Regions from separate parts of the Homo sapiens genome. Here region 1 is linked to region 2. The links are contacts of gene promoters, found by promoter capture Hi-C in blood cells and fetal thymus (Javierre and others, 2016). All regions are on one chromosome and are shown on one strand. The core of a region is centred on a gene start or on the middle of the fragment in contact, and the rest is flanking DNA. Distances in the headings are between cores, read along the strand shown. Region 1 overlaps DENND1A (DENN domain containing 1A). Region 2 holds the start of LHX2 (LIM homeobox 2).

Region 1 (3,101 bases), core at 552-3,051, 250 kb after region 2:
GAGCCTGTAGGGTAGCTAAACACATTTCCAGCATTTTTAATAGGAATAAAAAGAGAGTAGGAAATTAATGACACACAATTCACAAGTCAGGTGCATTCATTCTCTGTCTTTTTCCTGGAGAATCCTGGGTGTTTTCTTTTCATCGAGTCCTATCGATACCCTTCCTTTCTAGGATGATACTTAGTATTCATTTTAAACATTCTAGAAGTGAAATCAAAACCTGAGTTAAAACACTGAACAATCATATTTTGTATGATCACGTAGTAGTGTTTCTTAAAAGCACAACCTTATTTGTAACTTGGAATCATCCAGACCTGTTGCTTTAAATATTTTAATAAAACAGGATTTCCCCTCCCCCATTGAGGCCCACTTTTCTCCCCAATCACTTTAATTATGTGAGCTAGAATGCTGTTTCTCACACATCTTCAGTTCTCAACCTTGTTAAAATTAATCATATAATCCCCCTTTAAAACATAGTATTAAATCACCATAGTAACACAGTATCCAAGCTTTATGGATAAAACATAACAGGCATAGGAAGGTAGCGTTTGGTGTCCCCTTGACGGCCCTATAACTTTTATAGAAATGTGTTTCTTCTCCTGGCTGTGTAAGGTGGAGGGATAGCATTACTTACACCTGCTTTATGACCACGTTGCTTTTAAATTGCCACCTTGTTTTTGTTCACCTTCCTAGTTAAATAAGGAGAGTGGAACACTTTTTCTTTCTGAATTATTTTCTTGTACTCTCTAACCACTCTCTAAGAGATGGAGTTGTCTCCTTAAATATGACCAGGCAGAGTCCATTGACCTTTGTATTGGAATACCTTGAAAATTCCTTTAATTTTAATTATTTATGTGGCTGTATAAGGGAGTTTTAGAAAGTCTACCCTATCTTTGAAAACTTTATTCATATCATATCCAAAGACTCAATAAGAATTCTACCTTTGGAAAAAGCTTGGTAAACCATGATTTTTAAATTTCTTCTGATAATTTATAAAGTAATAATTGATAGCATAGATTTGACTATTTTACCAATTTGAATACACTTTGTAAAATACAATATGAGTTGATGAGTTCCTTTGAATAACTCAGTGTTGAATTCTAGCATATTACGTTAATATAAATTCATGTATTAGAATTTGGATTTTTTAACCAAAAATACCTTTATTTTAATCTTCAGAGAAAAAACTCTTTTCTTCTTTTTCTGAGATAATTACTGTAACTTACAAAAATGGATATACATCTTCAAAGGATTTCCCTTGAATGCGAAATTTAGCTTTATGGGATCTAAGCATTTAAAGGTAAAAAGCAAATTCTATTTTGTTGCCATTATAAGACAAAACTGAATCTAGCATAAGGTAGGGAAACCCATTCACTCTTCAGGTTCTTCTCTGACAGGAACTAGCATTGTTATATTATTTCCACTTAGCAAAATCTGCTCTAATTTAATTATACTTCTTCCTGGCCAGGCGGTAATCCCAGCACTTTGAGAGGCTGAGGCAAGCGGATCACTTAAGGCCAGGAGTTTGAGACCAGCCTGGCCAACATGGCAAAACCTTCTGTCTACTAAAAATGCAAAAATTAGCTGGGCGTGTTGGTGCACGCTTGAAATTCCAGCTACTCAGGAGGCTGAGACATGAGAATCACTTGAACCCGGGAGGCAGAGGTTGCAGTGAGCCAATATTGTGCCACTGTACCCCAGCCTGGGTGACAGAACAAGACTGTGTCTCAAAGTAATAGTAATAATAATAACAACAATAGTACTTCTTCCTTCTGGTGTGATTTCAAACTCAGTGACCTCTTCTAGTCCATCTTGACAAAGTCATCAACTCCTAGAAGAGTACCCACGATTTCTTAATGACTCTTCACCACAATGTGAATTCTTGAGCCTATACATTTGTCTACAAGCTCTAGCAGCAACAGCTGGGCAAGTAGGTGGTAGCCTTAGCCGCCATAACTGTGACGGAAGCGGGATGTTTAAATTTTTAAAATGGAATGAAATCCAAGCTAACTGGTAAACTGATTTTAAAAACTGGATTTTTAGACATTTTACAACTTTAAAAAAAGAGTTTGGCCGGGCGCGGTGGCTCACGCCTGTAATCCCAGCACTTTGGGAGGCCGAGGCAGGTGGATCACGAGGTCAGGAGATCAAGACCATCCTGGCTAACATGGAGAAACCCCGTCTCTACTAAAAATATAAAAAAATTAGCTGGGCATGGTGGCGGGCACCTGTAGTTCCAGGTACTCGGGAGGCTGAGGCAGGAGAATTGTGTGAACCAGGGAGGTGGAGGTTGCAGTGAGCTGAGATCACACCACTGCACTCCAGCCTGGCAACAGAGCGAGACTACATCTCAAAACAGAAAAACAAAACAAAGAGTTTCTGTAATCTGATTAGTATTGTTTTTAAAATTTTTAAAAATAGATATTTTAATGTTGCGTTTATGTGTGGTTTTTAAATTTTTGTATTGATATATTTTTAGCTTTTTTCCTTTAACGTCTTTCTTTAAAATGTTGTTTCCATTTCTTAGAAAACACCATGCAATGCTAGACATTTTGGTTATTTCTGTCCTCTAAAATAGGAAATATGTTTCTCATAAATTCAGAAATTATGAAAGATATAGGAATTTAGGAAAGTAACACCTAAGCTTGCCCTGTTTTCTTTCCAGTTTCAATTTCAGCTCCTCCTCTTTGTAGCTGTGTGAACGTGATTCAGTTACTAAGGATGTATTCTGGTCCTTAGTTTCCTTTTCTGTAAAATGGGAACATCCTCTAAATTCCATGGTTGTCCTGAGAGTCAGGGAGATGGTCTACGCATATATGATGTCTAACTTTGTGGCTGGCACATAGTAACATTTACCTTTTGCTCTGGCAAGCACTCTTATTTTCTGAACTAGGGAAGTTCTCAGGTGAGGATTGTTAGCAGCAAGCTGGTAGAGTGGCCTGTGGAATCAGCGCGAGGGTTAAAATCCAGCTTTTTGCCACTGATCAGCTGACCTTAGGCAATGCCTCTCTAGACTATTTCTTCATCAGCAAAATGAGGTTAATAGAGGGCACCTTTCGGAATTGATGGGCTGACTAACAGAGCTGCCTCAGAGACTGAAC
Region 2 (3,189 bases), core at 390-2,889:
CCTCTTGGGTCCGGGGATGAGGTAAGTGGGGTGCAGGGACACCCTCAAAGTCCGTGGGTGAAGGACAGGTTCAACCCAAATACTTCCCTATCCAAACTGACCAGCAGAGAAGGTCTAACCGAAGAAGCGCTCAGAGGCCGGGAGGACACTGGCGCCGCTGCTCCTGCTCCCGGAGCAGAGAAGCTTCTCCCGTGCTCCCCACCTCCGCGGCCTCCTAAAGGTCACTTCTGGGCCCGCTGGTCGGGCAGTGTCTGCTCGTCTGGCCCCCAGGGAGGCCTGAGGCGAGGAACTGGCTATTTGGGGCTGGGCCCGCGGAGCCAGGTGTAGAGATCCAAATGGAGTCTCCTTCGGCGAGGGCCAGGCCGGAGCCTGAACTCCCAGCCCTGGCCTGGCTAAGTCTGACCAGTCAAGGGTCTGGGGACGCGATCAACGACAAATGTTGGCCCCGAAGACTTCGGCCTCTGAAACTGCGCTGGGGGTTGAGGAGGATCCCCGATTGCCGGAAAGCTGGGAGCGGCCCAAGCCGGCTGGAGCCCCAATGCTCCCAGCTGGTTCGCCCTTCCCTGGCGCCGCTCGCGGCGCCGCCAGCAACCGGAGCCGAGAGGTGGAGGAGAGCGCGGGGCTGTCGACCCCGGCACCGGGCAAGGTGAGAAGGGAGCCGCCCCGGGCCGCGGATGGGACTTCGCTTCCAGTTCGGAAGAAACGCTCTCCTCTACCCCCAGGGCCGAGATTTCGGTTTCAACCTTGTTTCCCTTCTGCGTCCCAGCAGCCGGGTTTCCCCCGAACCGGGAGCCACCGGCCTTGCATTCTGACCGAGGATCCCCAGCACCCAGTCCCGTGCGGCACGAAGGACGCTCCCCAAACTTCGGGGAGCAGAGGCGCTGACTGGCCCGGCCCCATCCCAGCTCTCAGCCCCGACCCCACAGCCGCGCGCCTACCGTCTCGGTGTCGCCGCGGTCGATGGCGGAGCTGATGGCGGGAGCCTCGCTCTTGGCCCTGCGGTCCATCTCGTCGATGACCCCGTGCACCTCGGGGCCCGACAGACTGTGGAACAGCATCGCGGCGGGACCGGCGGGGCCGGGGGCGCGGCTCCTCCGAGGGAGGGCTTGCCCCCCGCCTCAGCTGCCTGGCGCTCCTGGCGCTAACGGGCCCGGTGCATCGCCACCGCGGCCCCGGCCCCGCCCGAGCTCGGCTGAGCCCCCAGGCCGGGCTCCGGGCCCCGGGCGCTCGCGGGGCAGGACGCCTCCCGCCGAGGCGCAGGGGCAGCTACATTGCGGGGCGCCTGGGCGACGGCGCCAAAGCCAGGGTCACAAGGGCACGGGACAAGCGGGGCGGGGGGAGCAGGAGACTAGGACAGAGGTCGGCGCCCGCCGCGGGCGCTTTCACGCCGCGGGCATCGCCCGCCCGGCTTCAGCGCCCGGGGCGCAAAGCAAGGGCGCAAACTCTGCCCGAGGCGGCGACGGCTGCGGTCGGGGTTCACCCTGAAGCCGCTAGGTGTCCGCGGCGGCCCAGCTGCCTGGACCCCTCCCCTCCCTGGGGTGCGCCCCCAGCCCAAGGCGACCCTCTTGGGCGCTGAGTCGGCGACTGGAGTAGGGGTTTCTCCGAAGCCTGCGAGCCGAGTCGAGCCACCGGGAGAATTGAAGAGGAGGAGGAAGAGGAGGAGGAGGAGGCGGAGGAGGAGGTGGAGGAGGAGAAAAAAGAGGAGGAGCAGAGTGGGAGGAGGAGCCGCCGGCCGCGGGCCCAGCCGCGCGCAATGCTCTCCAAGCGCGCGCCTAGCCCAGCCCCGGCTCTGCAGTCCGCGCCAGCGCAAGCCTCCGCGCCTTTTCTACAGCCGCGCCTGACATCACGTCCTGCCGCCGTGCCATTGGCCGCTCGGCGCCCCAGGCCCTGGCAGCGCGTGCTCCGGGAAGGCGGGAGACCCAAGAGGGAGGGGAGAGGCAAGAGGAGCAGAGGAGAGTCGAGATGGTGGGAGCTGGTGGGCGAGGCTGGAGGGCGGGGGTGGGGGGGAGGCAGGGAGGAGGGAGAGCGCGGGGTTTGGAGTTTTTAAGATACGAACAGCTTCCTGCGATATCTTCAGAAAGGAAAATTAAACCCTCTATCCTAAGAAGGCGCAGCAAGGGGATGCTCGTCTCACTGCGGTCTCCCCTCGGCCTGGAGCCGCGGCCTCAGGCACCCGCCTGGGAGGCCCGGGAAGGCAGGCCTGTGGCAGAGTTGCAAGAGCCTTCGGCCGGCCGTTTCCCATCGAGCTCCGCCTTCGGCCCGGGCTCTGCACAGCGGGCTGCAGGCGGCCGTGCAAGCCTCCTGGGTACCCGGCAGAGCCTGAGTGGCGAGACCGGCGAGAGCTGTGACTCCCGGGGAGGGGGGCCAGCCAGCATATCCACGCTCCAAGCCCGCTAGGGCCCAATCTGCAGCCCAGCGTGTAGCTTCTCGCTCTTCCCGGTCTCTCCCCAGCCTGGAAGAGTGGGGGCGAGCATGGCTTTAGGAACTCAGAAAGGCCAGGGTTCGAATCCTAGCTCTGCCATTTACATGCACTGTAACCTTAGGCAGTGACTTATCCTCCCTTAGCCTGTTTCTGACCTTTATAATGGGCGACAAGAAGCTCTCCTCCGCATGGACGTGTTGATTGAAAGAGACTGTGGATGTAAAATGCCTGGAACATAGTAGGCACTTAGCAAATTATTTCATTACTCTCTCTTGCTCCTTTTCCATTAAAAACTTTCTCACTCCAAGACACATTCGATATCAGTGAGGTTCTTAAAAACCACAGGCCTATTCTCTGCCCACTGGGCACACCATGTCTCAGACCCCGCTGATGGCGCGAGTCCTCCTTACCCGCCTGGCTGCACCACCTCCCCAGGGGCCAACAAAGTAGCGTGCTGGGTAAATCCCAACTGCTACCCCCAGCCTCCAGGTTTCAGGCTCACCCTAGAGTCTCCTGGGGACTGGAGGGAAATACCCAGGTGTCTGGTGGGGGAGGGATTTAGGAAATAAAATGATTGTAGACAAAAACTGAATAAGCACTTCGGTTACAGAGTCCCATCTGGGTCTGCTTCGGAGGCAGGTTTGGCTCCGTCTAATAGGGACAAGGCGGGTGTCAGTCTGAAATGACTTGTTTGCCAGGACAGGTAAGGGGATAGTCAGGACCTGCGGTTTACCTCACAGGGTACAGAGTTGAGGCATGAAATCATG

The links. The method cuts DNA at HindIII sites, captures the fragments that hold promoters and counts their contacts. A CHiCAGO score of 5 or more calls a contact.
Region 1: a contact is called between a fragment that was not itself captured here and the fragment with the promoter of LHX2 in region 2, in 1 of 17 cell types (M1 macrophages). The highest score is 6.5, in M1 macrophages.

What each region holds. Positions count from the first base shown.
Region 1 is chr9:123,758,071-123,761,171 of GRCh38, reverse strand. The region is part of intron 4 of DENND1A (DENN domain containing 1A); the gene reads left to right. Among named protein-coding and RNA genes, the nearest start is that of DENND1A, 170 kb to the left of the region's middle. The HindIII fragment of the contact is 1,691 bases long and covers 956-2,646 here.
Region 2 is chr9:124,010,218-124,013,406 of GRCh38, reverse strand. LHX2 (LIM homeobox 2) reads right to left here and starts at 1,639. Exons shown (of 5, transcript NM_004789.4): 1 at 939-1,639. The coding sequence starts at 1,058. RefSeq lists enhancers at 1-154, 155-727 and a silencer at 1,666-1,715. The HindIII fragment of the contact is 7,434 bases long and covers 186-3,189 here.